4 separate regions of the Homo sapiens genome follow, and regions 1, 3 and 4 are each linked to region 2. Evidence: promoter capture Hi-C in human tissues and cell types (Jung and others, 2019). All regions are on one chromosome and are shown on one strand. Each heading gives the region's core, a stretch centred on a gene start or on the middle of the fragment in contact. The rest is flanking DNA. Distances are from core to core; before and after follow the strand shown.

Region 1 (4,826 bases), core at 603-3,102, 970 kb after region 2:
TTTGGGAGGCAAAGGCGGGAGGATCCCTTGAGCCTAGAAGTTCAAGACCAGCCTGGGCAACATAGTGAGACCCCATCTCTATAAAAACCTTTTTAAAATGCCAAATGAAACTAACAGGTACTGGATTTCAGACTGGTGAGTTGTTTGAGGAACAACTTAGATGCAAACTAACGTCAATTCAACTCTTATTCACAAAAGAAATCTAAAATTCTTAATGTTGTGTTTGCTTTATTTTGAGCTGAGGACTCAATTGTTATAGAACTTCACATGTAGAACTAAAACCCATGAGGTACCCTTTTTTGCAGAGTGGAGGAAAGAGGGCAATGCCAGTTTAGGAAACTTATGTTCAGTTAAGGTGAGATTGTACTAGTTTTGGTTTTAGATTGGTAATTCCTGGAGGCTGCTCTGAAGGTTGATACCAACATTGCTGGAGAGGTATGAAATGGTCCCTCCCTACCATTGATAAAATAAGGTACATTGTTGCTACATGGAGAGGCCAGTTCCTCATTCTCCCAACAAACAAATGCTGAGCTGAGCATCAAATCTATAGGTACTTTCTTTCTTTTTTTTTTTCTTTTTAGAGATGGAGTCTGGCTCTGTCGCCCAGGCTGAGTGCAGAGGTGTGATCATATCGCACTGTAACCTCAAACTCCTAGCCTCACAGAATCCTCATGCTGCAGTGCTCCTGAGTAGTTGGGGCTATGGATGCTTACCACCCCACCCAGCTAATTTTGAATCAATAGGTACTTTCACACATACATACAATCAGGGCCGTTCTATTATTTTTCTCCTTTAGAAGACTGTCCAAGTTCTAGGCAGCAACAATGTTAAAGGAATTCAGTATATTTGCATAGGCACTTGCATAATAGTTAGATCAGATTTCTTAGTCTTTGGGTTTCCCCTCTGTCCTTCTGGCCTTTTCCTCTCCTCTTTTGAGGGGTTAGGATACGGCTTTGGGTTTCCTTTGTAGTCGTTCAGACACAGGGGTGTAGCTGCTGGTAGGAAGTTATTTATGGCCAATAGGATTCACATCGGTAAGAATTATTTATTAGCCACTGTCTTAAATATTGGAACCAAGGCAATAGTAACTGCCGACATGATGCACTGCGGAAATGGAGAAACTTTAAAAACAGCAGGGCTTAGGGAGGTGGTTTGCAGAAAGGCAGGAAGAGCTCAAGCACCAGAAGAAATGGGTCTGGTTTCTCTTCCAGTATCACCGCCAATTGGCTGTGTGACCTAGGACAAGCCACTTCTCCTCTGCCAACTGCCATGCAGCATTTACCAAGAGGACATCAAAGAACCTCCCTCACAGGCCTGTTGCAGAAATTAAATGAGATAATGGCTAAGGCTCCTGGGAAGCTTTCCCTAAATGACTACACCCAGTGGATCTGGTAGAATCAAAAGTTAACAAGTCAATCCATTCATGCTAACTCTTCTTTATGTTTAAAAGAGGAAATTAATACATGGTCACCATAAAGAAAATTCACCAACCTTTGACCTTCCAAGCTTTGAGAATCCAGCAAACACCCACCCACACTGTTGGGGAAGCCATCTCACTGTACTAGAAATGAAACCATTGCAGGTTAATGATTCACTAATTCTAATGAGACCTGGAGAGATCAGCAAAACAAGCGAAACTGATAGCAATAGGACAAAAGGAAAGTGCAAGAGAGAAACCCAGAAAGCAGCTGAATGTTGCCTTTAATACCTGTAAGATGGTCTGTCCCTGAAGGCAACTGCACCCAGGTGGGTCCCGAGGCTCCTCAGAACCCGCAGATCCAGAGTGAGCTGCCAGGCGAGGGCTCGGAGCAACAAGTTCCACACCTGTAACAATGCGTCCTCCTGGCTGAGTGAAAGCAACCTTGCTACCAGCTGCAATGAGGAACTGGTCTCTCCCCTCCTTAGAGACATTTCCAGTTATTTGTTTATGAAAAAGCCTAAAGGGAAGCCAGCTCAGAATCTAAGGCAGCCTAAGAACAAGTCAGGTAAACAACGGCTGATCAAATACAGAAATGATGCAAATGTAACTTTTTACTTCCTCTTGAGGCATTCAACAAATCATCACTCATAGTTCAGTGAAGCAGTTCTAGGTTTCTATTTCATTTATTTTCTCTAAGGTTGTGAGATGCATTCTTTGGGACTCTACTTTCTTCACATCATAAAACATTTTGTGTTGATCTATTTTATTAATGACTTGCTTTGATAAGCATTGAATAGTAGAGGAAATGATTAGAGCACCAGGGAGTGAATTTGTGAACATTAGTTTTCAAATAATTAAAATGCAAATGGAAGAGCATTTATATCTACCAGTATTCTCATTAGATCAGTACCCCAAAGAATATTTATTTGATGCCTAGGTGGAGATAATGCATATGTATGCAGCATTAAACAAAAATGTCTATAGACTTTCCCAAAACAAAGTTGAAGTAATTCTAATGAAGTCTAATTCACTGAAGTTTTCATTGATTGGACTCATTACAGATACTTACTGTGAAGGTTCCCTGAGGTCGGTAGTTCTTAAAGTAGGGTCCCTGGACCAGCAGTATCACTATGACTTGAGAACTTGTTAGAAAGGAAAAATCTTCCCCCTCCATGCTCTCCAACCCCTGGAACTCTGGGATGGGGTCAGAAGTCCGTGGTTTTTTTTTGAGACAGGGTCTCACTCTGTCACTCAGGCTGGAGTGCAGTGGCACGATCTCAGCTCACTGCAACCTCCACCTCCTGGGTTCAAGCGATTCTCCTACCTCAGCTTCCTGTGTAGCTGAGATTACAGGTGCACACCACCAGGGCCCGGCTAACTTTTGTATTTTTAGTACAGACGGGGTTTCACCATATTGGCCAGGCTGTCCGAACTCCTGACCTCAGGTGGTCCACCCACTTCGGCCTCCCAAAGTGCTGGGATTACAGGTGTGAGCCACTGTGCCCAGCCAGAAGTCTGTGTTTAACAAGACTTCCAGGTGATTCTTACATGGGTTAAAATTTGAGAACCACTGCCCTTAGAGGAAAAGAAAAAAAGGTCTAACTTATAGATGTTGGCCTTGTGATAAACTTTATATTAGTCTTTAATTCTCTCATATTGATCTTACTAGAACATCATTTACTTAGAACTTTGAAAAATGACTTGATCTCCTGCCCTCACCACCATTGCCAACATTACCATGACTCAACCAAAAGCAGGATATCAAAAAATATTTTGCCTGCATGGAGCCTGCATAAACAGTTCTGAGCTCCTGCCAAGGATGTCTAGAAGTGAATTGCTTCAATTTGGGAAGGAAAAAAATGAATAAAGTCTTTTAGCTTTTAGTTTGTGGAAGGAAGGTCATACTCTTTTCTACCAATCCCCTCACGCACATGGGATTGTAAAGCTGTCTCTCCTAGGGGATAATGATAATGGAATACTTGATCCCAATGCAAAAACTTCCAACCTCTGGTTGTAACTTCAAGAAGGAAATTAAGAGTCTTATAGAAAGGTCACAAAAGATTATCACGGAAAAAAATGTGCCACCTCCATCTGATTTGTCAAGGAGATGGCAACAGGGAGGCATTTTGGGTGGGGAAGGGACACCCCAGAGTCAGCTTTTCCTTTAAGAACCTGGGGCAACCTCACTGTGGCCCTTTCTCAGATGACACATGGAGGTGCTCTCCAATATCGCAGAGGGAGCAGCTCGCCTCAGCATTTTTTGCCTGTGTGTAGTTTTACGTTTATGTATGCTTTGCTTCAATAAAAAGTATACCTTAAAAAGTATGTCTATGCTAAAAGATGACATCCTGGTTTGCTTACTTTATGGCTTTGAATTGGCAAATTCCTAAAAGATATTTTCTTTCTAGTTGTTGAAAAGAGGTATGAGATTTATTTGAGCTTCCTTTTAGGTTTTAGGGCTACAAAAATTCAGTTGTACCATATTTACAATGATTAATATAGCTGGGCACAGTGGCTGATGCCTGTAATCCCAGCACTTTGGAAGGCCAAGGTGGGCAGACTGATTGAGCCCAGGAGTTTGGGACCAGCCTGGGCAACATGCTGAAACCCCGTCTCCACAAAAAATACAAAAATTAGTTGGGTGTGGTGTTGGGCACCTGTAGTCCCAGCTACTTGGGAGGCTGAAGTGGGAGGAATGCTTGGGCTGAGGTTGCAGTGAGCCGTGATCATGCCACTGTACTGCAGTCTGGGTGACAGAGAAAGATCCTGTCTCTCAAAAACAAACCAAAACAAAAAAAGGTGACTATCAGATTAATATCAATGCATCTTGATATCTTTCAATATTTCTGAGGTATTTATTTAGGAAAAGTTTCTAGGTAGTACATATTCTGAGCTGTTTCATACCCCAAAATGACTTTATTTTGCTATCACATGTGCAGGGCATGGAATTCTTGCAACATGGTATTTTCCTTTAAAGGTCTGTAGACATTTTTGCATGATTTCAGTCATTAATAGTTGAAATAGGAGGTCAATAGAATATTTACTCTTTGCTGGGTACCATACTCTTAAATTTTTTTTTACTTCTTTGTGAGATTGTGTATGTTCTATTGAAGTGTGAAATATATATATACACACACAATACAATAGAACATTATATATATATAATTTTATTGGGATTAGGTCTTGCTATATCAAGCTGATCTCAAACTCCTGGGCTCAAGTGGTCCTCTTGCCTTAGCCTCCCCAGTAGCTGGGACTACAGGGAATGCTGCTAATTTTTTATTTTGAATTTTTTTAAAAGATAGGGTTGGCCGGGCATGGTGGCTCACGCCTGTAATCCCAGCACTTTGGGAGGCAGAGGCGGGCAGATCACGAGGTCAGGAGATCGAGACCATCCTGGCTAACA
Region 2 (4,802 bases), core at 1,686-4,185:
GGCCCACTGAACCGGAATAGTTCTATCACTCTTATCAGAAACCCCAGAGAACCTTGATTCTCTAACTTTGTTAAAAATTTGCAAGCCAACTTTCAATTACTTTTTTTTTTCAATTTTTAATTTTTGCCAGTTCAGTTCTCTGCCCCTCTATCTTTGTGAAACAGAGTCAAGGGAGGTTAAGAAAAAGCAAGTGTTTCCATATCACATCTTCTTCCTGCTACAAGCCAGGCTAACAGAACCAGAACTGTTTCTCTCTTCTCCAGCTTCCAATTCTCCTTCAAATTAAACTGAGACCCTCCCCAAACTATTGCTCTTTGCAAAATTAAATACTCCAGTGTCTGAACAAAGCTAAACTAAAAAGGACACTTTAAACGAATAACCTTTAAAAACAAACTAAGTCAGCCTTCAAAATAATCCCCTTTGGCCACACAGGACAGCCCAGGGGACAGGTGCAGGGCATGCCTTCCTAGAGGCTGTCTCCTCCTCCATGAATCTGACCTTTTCCAGCTGGTAGCTCTGGCACCTCACAAATCAGTTGTCAGTAGGCCGAATGCCTGCTTTCCCATCTGCACTTTCCAAATGGCTCCTGATGCCAACGGCTGAGATATGACCTGGCTCTCTGATGAGAACATGCTTCCCAAGTGACATGCCAGGTTTCCTGGAAGCATTTCTAAATGCATTCTCTGAGCTCCCTCCCTCACCTCCCAGTCACGGTTCATTCTTCCTTCCCTGCACTTCCTAATGCCACCTCCTGATCCTATTCCTCCAACGTCATGTCCCTTCAGTCCCAAATCCTTACCCACTTTCATCAACCATTGACCCTTGTCCTGCCTTACATCCCAACTTCAAATCCAAAGGGCATAGTTCTGGCTAGGTGTGGTGGCTCACGTCTGTAATCCCAGCACTTTGGGAGGCGGAGGTGGGTGGATCACCTGAGGTACGGAGTTCGAGACCAGCCTGGCCAACATGATGAAACCCCATCTCTACTAAAAATACAAAACTTAGCAGGGCATGGTGGCAAATGCCTGTATTCCCAGCAACTCGGGAGGCTGAAGCAAGTGAATTGCTTGAACCCAGGAAGCAGAGGTTGCAGTGAGCCGAGATCACACCATTGCACTCCAGCCTGGGCAACAGAGCAAGACTCTGTCTCAAAAACAAACAAACAAATAAACAAAAAAGCAAAGAGCATAGTTACAACATTTTGGAGCTGGTTCAAAGTGATCTTTCTGAGGCCTACCTGCAGGCAGGTCGGTCATGGCCTCTTCCCTTGCCTTCTTCAGCTTCTCCCTGACCCAGGGAAACTCCTGTAGGGAATCTAGGAATGTATCAAATGCTTTAGGGCCCCTGGAAGGTAGGATATCCAGCAGGAGCATTGTTTTCCGGAGGCCTGTGGTTTGAGCATTGATTTCTTGAATATGGTTTTCCGTCAAGATTCCTTCCTGGTAGAGGTACTGAAGAACCAGTCCCTCCACCAATACCTCTGCACCCAGCTCCAGGCGAAGTGAGCGGAGTACTTGTTTGTCTCTGGCCTCCATTTCTCCCTGGAAAGAGCCAAAATCACAGCTCAAATTACAGACATGTTGATGTGGCCCTAAAGACAGTGTCACTGCAATGTAAGTTCCTTCAGGTCAAGCACATCTTTAAACCATAGCAGACTGCCAGGTCATGGTATTTAATTCACTGATTAAGCCAAGCCAGGTTAATTTTGAATGTTTCCTAACATAATGAACAACAATGAAGATGAATCATCTTTTCTGTTTCTGCTTTTCACACAATGGGGTCCCAGCTCAATTCCTCGTTCAATAAAGAAATTTGGAAAAAGAAAAAAAAAAAGTGGGTCAGAGACCCTTCTGAACAAGCAATTTTTATCTGAAGATTACAGAGCAGCACTAATTTTAACACGCTGGAGAAGAAATGGTGGTTTTATTTTCACATTGCCCTCATCAGACCTGCACCACCACCACCAAGGCAGAAACTGCCAAGGTGGACGCAGGTCCCCTTTTTTTGATCACAAGTATTTGCAAAACCTGATCAGTAATAGGAGTGCAGGACAGAAATCAGCAGGTTCAGAATTTAAGGCTCTTTTCGCTAAAAGTCCTCTACACGATCACCTTTAAGAAAATTGTTGTTTGTGCCCAGTCTACAATAAACTTTACACAATATACAGTCACAGACTCCATTCCTTCCCACTAAGAATTCCGAATCTCCAGCACAACACTGTCGTGGCCGCACATGCATGGGACATTTTATGGGATTTTTTTCTTTCAAAAAAAGCACACACCCCAGCACTGGTCAGTAGCCAGGCACGATTTGAAGGTGCAGTTCCACCACCCCTGCACCAGTGTGCTGTGGCTTGGTTGTGTGTAAGGCAGTGAAGGTTAAGTGACCGGGAAGGCAGGCAGGGATGACAGATGGGGCTTCAGACACACCCGGGCAGTACGACCACGGCTAGGCGACACCCGATCCCACACTCCCCCTCGCAACCCTGTAAAGTTCAGGAGGTGACAGGTGAGGAGGGGAGGTGTTCACGTTTGGCCGTGAGCGCCCATTGGGAACTATTTAAAAAGGCTCTGCTTCGGCCGCTGAAACCCTTGTATCAAACAGGAAGACTACGGGCGGTTTCTGCGGCAACTTGACCCGCTAAAGAGGGAGTGCTGGGAATGAACTAAAGAGCGGACCAAGGGGAGAGCGGGCCTCCGGCACTGCCGCAGCCACCCAGCCTTGGCCCGGATCGGAAATGCGGAGCAAGTTAGCGGGGCGGGGAAGCCCCCGCAGGGCCCAGGTCGCAGACGCTACAATGCAGGACTTTCAAAGAAAGATGGATTCCTGTTACTTACGTCTGCAACCACGTATCTTTGGGGCGGGGGAGAAAAACTGCAACCGGAATCCTGACTGTTAGGGAACCTGCCCCATAAGCACCATCTTTGTTAATGGCGAAAACCCTAAACAGGAAGTGTTGACACCATCTTTGTTGAGGGCAAGTACAGGAAGTGCTGTCGCCATTTTTATTGAGCGTTCAAGGGTCGGATCGAAGCTCTTCCCGCCATGCTTACTGTGGGTAAACAATTCAATAGCGGGGAGATGGACAACCGTAGTGTCACTTAAAGGGTATCTAAGTAATGGAGTAATTGAATCATTGCATTTTAACACAGTAACTCCATCAGGGCCTCGCACACAATTGACCTAACAGAGAGGCAGGTCAAAAGCCACCCTAGTAGAGAAGCCTTCTCTGACCTATCTGATTAAAACGGCAAGACAGCTGCGCTCATTTCCTGCACTCCCCATTAACCAGCTTTATTTTTTACGCATCACCATCTTATTAAAACTTTTCACTTATTCATTTGTTTATCCTTCTGCTTCCCTCCATTAAAATGCAAGGTCATTTATTTATATCAAGGGTTCCTGCCCGCAAAGAGTTTACAAATCTGTCAGTCAGGATTTCATTGCAGCACTCAGCTAGTTACTCCTAGTCAGAAAGGGATTCGTTAGGGGGAATTGGGGACATTCGAAATCATTGGAAAGGCTGGAGAAGGGCTGAGCTGAACATCCATGGATGACTACCTAGATAAGATTGCTGATTGTGGCTGCTGCCCACAATCAGGAAGATGGCGTCAGGAAGTTGCCATGCCTGGTCCCCAACCTCCTCTCAACACCGACAGAACAATTAACAGGACACTGGAACAGTGCTGCAAAAAACGGTGGTCTCCACGGCTGCATTTGCCAGCAGCAAGAAAACAGCACCTGCAAATCTTGCTTTGCTGCGTGCCATTGGTGAGACCAATCTGACATGCAGAATATTAGCAGCAAGGATGTCTAGAGCATGTAGTTGGTAGCTTTCCAGCTTGTGAAACACAAAAAGGTATAGTAAATGAGGGAAGGCCTGACACTTAAAGCCAATCTACTGCATCCACCACATTTTCAATGTGGAAAGCAAGAAAAAATGCATGACCCAAATACAGAGAAACACAGCAATGCCAAATTGGGTGTCCTTCCTCACATTCCTTTGTGAAGCGAGGCAGGCGATCAATAAATACATTCATTGATTCATTTTTAAATCAATTGGATGATACATACAGAAAGTCATATGCTTACTAAAAATCAGTTGACAGTACAGGGGGAAAAAACTCCTAAAATATTATTTCTGCAAAGGTTTTCACAGCCAAACCCTTTGGTGGAAAATGAAAATATCTTTGTTAAGCAAATCAATGGAGAACAGTTCTGAACCTCCCTCCTCAAAACCTTCTAAAAATTGTATTCAATTTACAGCATTACTATGCCAGTTACCATTTTACTACACCGTTAATGACAGTATTTTTACCTATGTGGCAAGTATTATTATTATTACAGTCATGCATTGCATAACAATATTTGGGTCAATGACAGACTGCATATATGATGGTGGTCAGAGCAATAGGCTATGCTATATGGCCTAAGTATGTAGTAGGCTATACCATCTAGGTTTGCATAAGTACATCCTATTTTGTTTGCACAATGACACATTTTTCACAATGTATCTCCACTGTTACAACTGTTTTAGCATTTGCATGTATAAAGACTGTGGAATCAGAATGGTCAATTGTCTTAGGCAAAATCTCACAGCTAATATAGAGCAAAACTTGAAGTCTAATGAAGTTTCTCTGATTTCATGCTCTTTCCAATACACCATACAACCTTGTATAGTGAAGAGTTTATTGTTCTAATGATAGCCAAATATTATTTGCAAATCATCCTGTTGCCACCTCCCATTCTTGATACTCTTGAGTTCCAGGTGCTCTCTTTTCTCTCTCCCTTTTCCCCTTTTG
Region 3 (4,638 bases), core at 325-2,824, 960 kb before region 2:
TTTCCTGGTATGGATGAGGTTGGTCATATTTTTAAAATTTTTATTTTGAAATAATTACAGCTCTACAGAAATTTGCACAAAATAGTACAGAGATGTCCCATGTACCCCTCACCCAGCTTCTCCCAATGATTGCATTTTATGTAACTATAGTACAATAGATCATATTTTCATAGACTAAAAAGACATTTGTCTGTGTTTATGAGCTGTTTATATGTATGTTCTTGCCATTTATCTATTGGCTGTTGGTCTTTTACATAGATTTGTATTGGTTTTCTACTAATTAAATTAATTGCTTTGCAAGTACATTTTTCCCAGCTTGTCATTCCTGACTCTATTTTTTTTTTAACTGTTGTGTAACAAAGTACCATAAACTGAGCAACTTCAAAAAACAACACCCATTTAATTATCTCAGAGTTTCCATAGGCCTGGAGTCCAGCTGCAGCTTAACTGCATCATCTGCCAAGTGTGTCATCAGCCTGAAATCAAGGTGTCAACCAGGACTGCAATCTCTTCTTAAGCTTGGGATCCTTTCCCAAGCTCACTGGATATTTACAAGATTAGGTTTCTTGCAACTGTAGACCTGAGGCCCTCAGCCGCCAGAGGCTGTTCACTGTTTTCTGCCACAGGGCATGTTCCATAGCACGACAGTTTGTTTCTTCAGGGCCAATGAACAGCATCTTTGTTGCATTTTGTCTTTTACTTCTAGATCCTCTTTTAAGGAGTTCACCTGATTAGTTTAGGCCCACCTAGGCACTCTCCCTTTTGATTAATTAAAATCAACTGATTAGGGGCCTTAATTATGTCTGCAAAATTCCTTTATTTTTCCATATAACATAATGTAGCCATAGGAGTGAAATTCCATCATGTTCAAAAGTCTTGCTTGTGGGAGGGTACCATCGTGGGAATCATCTTAGAATTCTGCCTGTTGCCCTGAATTATATGTTTGGTGTGTGCTGAGCATAGAGCTAGTGGATAGCAAGCGCTGAATAAATACTAACCATATTTTGCCATGAAGAAATCTACACATTTTCTGGTTTATAGGTTTGTATCATTCTTAGAATGGCCTTTGTACTTTGAGATTTTTTAAAAGCCCACATGCCCATGTTCTCCTAATATATTTTATGATTTTTATTTTTGTATATTTGAATCTTTGAATGAGTTAGAATTATTCAATTCCTTTTCAGATGTCTATACAGTTATCCCAGGGCAATTTTTTGCATTGTTACCTGTCTTTAAAAATATACCGCTGTTCATATGTATCAAGTTTTGTTTTTATAAATGTCTACTTTTTCCATGAGTTTTAAATCTGTCGAACACAGAAGGTTGTAATTCTGCCACACTTATTCTGGATTGATAGTCCTCTTCCTCTTCCCTTCCCAACCTCTCCCCTCAGGGATTTGAAATGAACATTTTGAGGCCAGGCTCAGTGGCTTATGCATGTAATCCCAGCACTTTGGGAGGCCGAGGCAGGTGGATCACTTGAGGTCAGGAGTTCCAGACCAGCCTGACCAACATGGTGAAACCCTGTCTCTACTAAAAATACAAAAAAATTAGCTGGGCATGGTGGCGGGCACCTGTAATCCCAGCTACTCGGAAGGCTGAGACAGAATTGCTCGAACCTGGGAGGCGGAGGTTGCAGTGAGCCAAGATCGTGCCACTGCACTCCATCCAGCCTGGGCAACAGAGCCAGACTCCGTCTCAAAAAAAAAAAAAAAAAAAAAAACCCACATACACACACAAAAACAGGCATAACTCCAGTATTATTTACAGTAAGGAAAGACCAAAAGGCTGAGAGGAAAAGATAGCAAAGTTTTGTGCGTGTGTGTTTTAAAATTTTGCTTTTAATTCTCTTTTGAACTAAGTGTTACCTCTCATCAAATTCGACTTAATGTTATAAAATCCTGCCCTTCTACAGTTTGCAAACACTGTTATGGTACATAGAATGTGTATTGTTGCTTCCCAAACCACTGTTGCCACCTTAAGTAATTTGTGACACACCATCGCAGCTCGCAGCTCGGGAGATGGAAGAGCAGGAACCCAGCCTAACTTTGTGTTCTGCAGGTCACAGGACTACTGCTTCTGCTTTGTTAGCCCCAGACTGCTTTCAAGCCTGCACATTCCTCCTATTTAATAAACATATTTAATATCCTTGTGCTGGGATCTGTACTGGGAAATTTAAGTTGGTTTGTCACTTATGTTAGGATGGCGAATATAACAAGATTTCTGATTTGTAGGTAACGATCTGTTTCCTTATTTGGCTTAATTCTTACTTGTATGTTACTCCTGTGCCTTCCTAAATATCACTAGATGCGCTTGTGTTAATTATTGAACGGTCCACCTGCCTTGTATCTCTGCATCTGACACAGAAGGAGGTTAAAACTGGGCTGTGCCCAGAAACTAACACTTAACATTTTATAACCTGATTCAAGAGCATATTAAGAGTGGAATGAATATGCTATTTACATGTGCTTTCATTTGGGAAAGGCACCATGCTTGTAGAAGCCTCCTGACTTAAGCAAATTATCAAGTACTATGTGTTGCATAAAGCCAGCCAAAGCTTACCTCATGTGCTGGGCAATTTAGAGGCATTCACAGAATTGGTGTCTGTTAGGCATGTGGGCACCAAAATTAAAGTGAGTCTCTTTCATTCAGGTGGCTCATTTATGCCCTACCTGGGGAGCAGTAGGGACACTTACTTATGCAAAATCAGCATCTGTTTCTACCACCTAGAAATGCTTTTATTGTTTGGGTAGGTGGGAGCACATTAAATTCAACTATTGAGAAGTTTGACTCGCACTCTGGCTGTTTAAAATGATCTAATACCAAGAAAGTTTTTGAAGTACTCAGGGCTCAAATGAAGCTCTTATTTTTAAAGAAAGACTTAAAATGAGAGGTCTTGAGACTTGTTGCTGTTTAAGGACAGTTTTGCAAAGTGAGCCTACCATTCCAACAGACTTTTTTTTTTTAAACTTTTGTTTTTTTGGCCAAATAGGAAATGGATGAAATAGTCTTGCATTCTTGTGGCTTTCTTTAAATTAAATGTTGATCCTTCCCAACCCTCATTTCTTAAATAATTTTTTGCATGTTTGGGGTAATTAGAATGGTAACAGATAGATAAATAAGAATAATACATATACTGGGCCAGGCACGGTGGTTCATGCCTGTAATCCCAGCACTTTGGGAGGCCCAGCCGGGCGGATTGCCTGAGGTCAGGAGTTCGAGACCAGCCTGGCCAACACGGTGAAACCTCATCTCTACTAAAAATACAAAACATTAGCTGGTGATGGCGGGCACCTGTAATCTCAGCTACTTGAGATGCTGAGTTAGGGAAAATCGTTTGAACCCGGGAGGCGGAGGTTGCAGTGAGCTGAGGTCACACCATTGTACTCCAGCCTGGGCAACAGAGCGAGACTCTGTCTCAAAAAAAAAAAAAATAAAAAACAAAAAGAATAATATATATGTACTATTGAAAAACAAAGAATACCAAATCTGAATACAAAGATTATGTTAATGTTTCCTGATACTTTGGATATTTCAGAAATCACAGTTACTTGTTAGTAACTCATTCAGCGAACTGTTAGTGAATAATTCTTTAAAATAATTGCTTCTTAGTTTATTTACACAACAGCCTAAAATGAGCCTAGATATTTTTCTAGGGCAGCAAGCTTATTAACTTCTCAGTGGATTTTAATTTTCCTAAGTTTATGATTGCTGTGGTTGTTAATTTAAGGTTGAAGTTAATGTAGAAGTAAATGCAGTGACATCAGATTCCAAAATTATAAGGTAATGAAATGGCCCATCAGAAACAGCAACTGTTTCACAAAGAGGGGCAAATGTTTGGTGCCTGGAGAAAACCGTAATCATTAACCAAGTGGCTCTGTGATTAAATAGTAAGCAGACAAATTGAATTATTAAGTGCTTCAAACATGGAAAAAAATTTTAAAACTATGATACCCATATATCTGCCTCCTAGATTTAATGAATGTTGACATTTTGCCATGTTTACATCAAATTTCTGTCACTTGTTTTTAAGAAATAAATGGTCCCATAAACAGCTATCTAGATGCCTTTCTCTCTTCCTGCTTCCTCAGAGGCCTCCATAACCTGAAGCTGTGTATCATTCCTTTGCGTGTTTTCACACACTGGATGAATCCATAAACAATTTATTGTATTACATGTATTTAATTAAATATATGTATTCTTGGGTTACAATTCTGCATACATGGCATCTCTTGTAAATACAATTTTTCTTTTCTTTTCTTTTCTTTCTTTTCTTTTTTGAGACAGTCTCACTCTGTCACCCAGGCTGCAGTGCAATGGTGCAATCTCGGCCCACTGCGTCTTCCACCTTTCAGGTTCAAGTGATTCTCCTGCCTCAGCCTCCCAAGTAACGAGGACTGCAGGTGCGCACCACCATGCCCAGCGAATTTTGCATTTTTAGTAGAGATGGCGTTTCACCCTGTTGGCCAGGCTGGTCTTCAACTCCTGACCTCAAGTGATCTGCCTGCCTCGGCTTCCCAAAGTGTTGGAACACCATGCCCAGCCTTGTAATTACAGTTTTCTAATGTGGTATTTTTATAATTTATCCTACTTCATTTTCATATTTTACTGCTGTATGTTATTTTGCTACATGAATAA
Region 4 (4,596 bases), core at 378-2,877, 910 kb after region 2:
GGTATTCTGTAATTATAACGTGCCACACATTATTGTGTCTTAATTGCCCTTAGCCTGAATTTTAATGATCAATTTGTTATTGTTGCAGATGTGAATATTGTGCATAAACTTACTAAATTTATGTAAAATTGTATAAAATAGAATTAGAAGTCACTAAGTTCTTTCTGTGTAGAAGTAATAAATTTATTGTAACACAATGCAGTTGTGTATATGACATTCTGTAATTCCTTGAACTGGATCATATATTCATAAGTTCTGTAGATACTTATGCATGAACATTTTCTCATTTAGTTTTTGGGTTCATTATTTGTATTGTGTTTACTACTTGTGATCATGTAGTTGTGCCTTACTTTGTGAGAAAGGTTAGCTCAGTAAATACTGCAATTTCTAAACTCAGTGATTGGAAGGTTATTAATTATAAATGTAACTGATAAAGTACGTGACAGCATTTAAATCTGTATAAAGAACAATGGAAGGATCCTTATTGAATTGTTGCTTTTTTTTAATATGTTTAAATATTATATTAAAAACATTTCTTTCTAAACTAGTTGTATTCTGTGACTATAAATTGTTTTGTCTAACAAAAGAGAGAACACTGTATTAACCATTTTGCATTAATTTATTTACAGAATATTAGGACTTTGCACTTGGATATAGACAGTGGTGTTTTAATGTTGTTCAATTTCGAATAGTAATTAAATTCCTGATCTCAAGAGAAATTATTAATGCCATTTTGCCTTAGACATTCCATTTAATATTGTAGAGAATTAACAAAACTAAAAACAAATATAAAAAATATGTAATTAACCCCTTATTTCATTGTGTGTCTGCATTTAATACCCAGATGACCATTTAAAGATACTTAAAACATTATTTATTTATTTATTTATTTATTTTTCTCCCTCCCCTCCCCAAAGATACTTTTTGGAAGGCCCAATGTGCCATTGTTTTTTGCTATTTTTTCTTCCTGGGAGCCACGGTTCTAGAATGGTTTTTGTTCTGACCCCCGTGATCCCTTCATTCGAATGTGCTTCATTCTAAACCCTCCAAAGAGTTTAATGTGCATATCCTCAAACATCTAATATATTGTATATTAGACATGTTACTTTGTGAGCTTTATAGAATTCCAGTTTATGTACAGCATATTCTTGAGCTGTTTTATATATTTTGTTAATTTAGTCAGTCTGTCTCTCCCTTTAATGAGATTCAGAGGGAGAAAACTACCTTTATACATGTAAGTCTGTGGTTGCTGGATTCATGGGACTAAAGGAATTTGAGAGGCCACCTCATCCTAGTCCACTGCTCACCTCCGAGGTTAGTTTATATCTAAACATTTGCAAGATGATTGTTAATGTAAAAATTTTTTTTAACCAGAAATTTCTTTATAAAATCTTCTCTTGCATAATCTATATTGTATTCTCCTGGACATAACTGCTTTCAGTCCCATCCAGATGCCATCTCTAGGAATTCACTTGAAGCTTGAAGTCTATTCTCCCCTTTTTCTCCCCTCCACCTCATTTATTCTTAGCTATTAACAATAGTTACTGTCCTCCAGATTTTCCTTTTTTTCTTCTATTAAATTTCTGACATTATTATAAAGAGGTTATTAGTCTCCATTCTAATAGTGCTTGCCTTGTACAAAAGCCTTTCTGCTGCACTTGTCTTTACTGCTTTGTTTGCATAGTGAAATTTCACCTTCCTCAAGGAATTACTGGGCACATGACTTGCCCAAACATTATCCTCTCTACCCCATTCTTCAGCTTAACAAAATCAGCTAAGGCTTCAGTTGTCTTGCAGCCAAATTTGATAAATTTACTACTTTCACTTTGCAAATTGCAAAAGGTACGATTCTGAAATGGAAGTTTGTGGACTTCCCTTTGATGCAATAATCTGACCCTAAGAACTAGTTCCTTGAATGTAGTTAATAGTATATATCCTGCCATGATAATAATTATTCAAACTGCCTTTCATGATAAAAATTCTGAAGAAATTTGAAGTCCTGCCAAATAAAATTAAGTGACTGTACTGTGCTAACACACACACACACACACACACACACCAATCAAAACCAGAAAGTATTTTTATGGCAAACACCATCATTCTTCAAAAAATAAAGTTAAGAGACAGATACCTTACTATGTCTATGAAAATCTGTACACTTCACAACAGGCCAAGAAAAGCCATGCAAAAGTGTTAACTGGTGAAAGCCAGATTTTTTTTTTCTTCCTATCTTAAAGTAATGGAATTTAGTCTTTGGGATTTTCTACTTCCACGTTAGAGTACTATATACCTGAGATGAGTTTGAGAATAGGAATTTTAAAACTGCTACTTAAATGTAGTCCCTATTTATTGCTTTGTATATTAAAAGAACAATCAAGCTTTGTATCTAAAGATTTATCATTATGTTTGAGGTAGGACTATAAAGCGGTTAAGACTGATTGACAGGCCATGAAGGAAAATTGGTTTCATTATTTTATGGATACAGAGTAAGATGCTGGAGTTCATATTGGACATAAGCAGTGGACATTGTTTTCCTTCTGATACTCCATTTATCTGATCATTCACCCTTTACAAATTAGCACCTTTCTTCACTCACACCTCTTACAAACCTGACGGAAGCATTAGAAGGTAATCTGGATGTCAGTATATATTTGTCAAGAAATTCCTCAGAGTTCAAATTTGTTGCAGTCATTATTCCTCTATACTGAGGATTTTCCTAGCTCAAAATTTCAAATTCTGAAACTTCTTTAAAATGCAAATTTCCTTCTAGCTTATCACTAGCTAAGTGTTACAAAACTTTGAATGAAATTATACCTTAAACCATAATCTTCTAAAAAGACATGCCACTTGTTTTAGGTCCCTAAATTTCAGAGGATTCTGCGGGCAATGTGAATAAAGATATTTTCTTGGTTTCCTGACTCTTGGTAAAGCAAGAAATTGCAGTTGTTATTTGTGCCATCCATGTTTTCTGTTGAAAAAAAGAAAAAAATACATAAATAGAGATTAGAATGTTAAGCTGACAATTTCTCACATATTTGGGCTAATATTTTCTGCTATATTTATTGACCAGCTCTTTAAAACTGAAGACTAATGAAACATTTGCATATGTTTCCCATTTTCTTTCTTACATCTAATATAAATACTTCTAATCTTACAGGAAAATGCAGATGGGCTAAATGAGTATGGTATGCATGTTGGATAACAGTTATGAGTAATCAAGAAACAATAGTCAATGATAACTCATTAGAAAAATGAGCACTGAGAATATATGTAGTTTGAAAGTGGCATTGCTGGAATTTCTATTCTCTGTGGAAACAAGTTCTTAACCTGTAGTATAACTTGAAAGAGACTGAGGGCAGTGACCCAGGAAATTGAATATTGCATTTGTTGTCTGGCCACATTGTAGATATGATGAAAGCCTACCAGGGGAAATACAAAAATAGAAACTTCTAAGACAGAGAAACCAGAGTCAGGCAGCTGCTCTTTCAACTCCATAGCTGTAAAAACAATGGCAGTTTTTCAAAGGTTGACAAGCTGACTTGACAGGGATCATTATTGCGCCAGGCCCTCCTTAAGCTAATATCCTATTATATGCACTTTGGAAACTGATTGGAGCATCTTAAAGGTTCATCATGCAATCCAAATCAATTCTTCCCCCATTTCCTACAGAAACTGTAGAACGCAGGCAGTTCTTGAGCTTCTGCAGGAGAACTCTGCAAGCGTGAGGAAATTGTTCCTCAACCCCGCAAGTGTGAGGAAATTGTTCCTCAACCCCACAAGTGTGAGGAAATTGTCAATACTGAGGCTTTTGAGCATTATATGGACTAGATGTACCCCTCCCCTCCTCCCAAATCTGCCCTTCCCAAGTGGGTGAGAGAAAAACACAAAACTTTCCATTCACTGTTACTTAAGACACTTGGGGGGAGCTTATGTAAACTCTGAAGAATCAAAGACCTACAAAATTAAAATACATACTTTGATGTTTTCCGTTTGGGCTTGTAATAAGAATGCTGCTATACACTGTCGATATCTGTTTTCGTGTTGTATAAGAAAAGCATTTCTCAGCCCAAAGACTAGAAAAAGATATTACAAAGACAAAAAGCCAAATCATTTCATATGAAATCCAAACAATTTCTTAGTACAAGAATCTGGGGTTTGTTTTCTATTTGGCTTGTTTCTGTTTTAACGAGGGTGGGAGGTTTATCTAGCTTATAATTTTTTTTTAAATTTTATTTCAATGCCAAGACCCCACCACTATGTCCAAATAAAGCCTACTCTACTATAAAAACCCTTTCTTCCTTAGCTAATGACTTCTGATACTTGATGAAATGCAACTAAGGCTTAGGTAATGGGGCCCCTGCTCGTAGAACAAGCTAAACATATGCGGTAGATTTTTTTGTGTATGAAAATATAGATAATAAAAATATACAAAACAATATAATATTTTCTTCTTTGTTCTTCACCACTCCTTTAAAAAATTTTATTTTTGTGTTTAAAGGGAAGTCACATCCAACCAAGGTTTATAAACAAATTAAGATGTGGCAAAAATACAAAACCACCTGAATACTTCAGGCCAAGAAAAGCCAAAAACCACTC

The links. Contacts are between HindIII fragments. The study calls those that stand out against the background at their distance.
Region 1: a contact is called between the fragment with the promoter of PLEKHG7 here and the fragment with the promoter of CRADD in region 2, in 1 of the 25 tissues and cell types used here (adrenal gland).
Region 3: a fragment that was not itself captured here is called in contact with the fragment with the promoter of CRADD in region 2 in 1 of the 25 tissues and cell types used here (spleen).
Region 4: a contact is called between a fragment that was not itself captured here and the fragment with the promoter of CRADD in region 2, in 1 of the 25 tissues and cell types used here (spleen).

Annotation. Positions count from the first base shown.
Region 1 is chr12:92,700,015-92,704,840 of GRCh38, reverse strand. It overlaps PLEKHG7 (pleckstrin homology and RhoGEF domain containing G7), which reads right to left and starts at 1,852. Exons shown (of 17, transcript NM_001377329.1): 1 at 1,709-1,852. RefSeq lists an enhancer at 1,652-1,711. The HindIII fragment of the contact is 15,061 bases long and covers 1-4,826 here.
Region 2 is chr12:93,675,508-93,680,309 of GRCh38, reverse strand. CRADD (CARD and death domain containing adaptor protein) reads right to left here and starts at 2,935. Exons shown (of 3, transcript NM_003805.5): 1 at 2,838-2,935; 2 at 1,238-1,541. The coding sequence starts at 1,535. RefSeq lists enhancers at 433-1,247, 2,064-2,878, 2,851-3,090, 2,879-3,694. The HindIII fragment of the contact is 15,222 bases long and covers 1-4,802 here.
Region 3 is chr12:94,632,746-94,637,383 of GRCh38, reverse strand. The region is part of intron 1 of TMCC3 (transmembrane and coiled-coil domain family 3); the gene reads left to right. Among named protein-coding and RNA genes, the nearest start is that of TMCC3, 15 kb to the left of the region's middle. The HindIII fragment of the contact is 3,075 bases long and covers 37-3,111 here.
Region 4 is chr12:92,768,460-92,773,055 of GRCh38, reverse strand. It overlaps PLEKHG7 (pleckstrin homology and RhoGEF domain containing G7), which reads right to left. Exons shown (of 17, transcript NM_001377329.1): 16 at 3,976-4,073; 17 at 601-2,968. The coding sequence ends at 2,861. EEA1 (early endosome antigen 1) reads left to right here. Exons shown (of 29, transcript NM_003566.4): 29 at 1-2,419. Among named protein-coding and RNA genes, the nearest start is that of PLEKHG7, 68 kb to the right of the region's middle. RefSeq lists a silencer at 3,617-3,817. The HindIII fragment of the contact is 3,936 bases long and covers 1-3,595 here.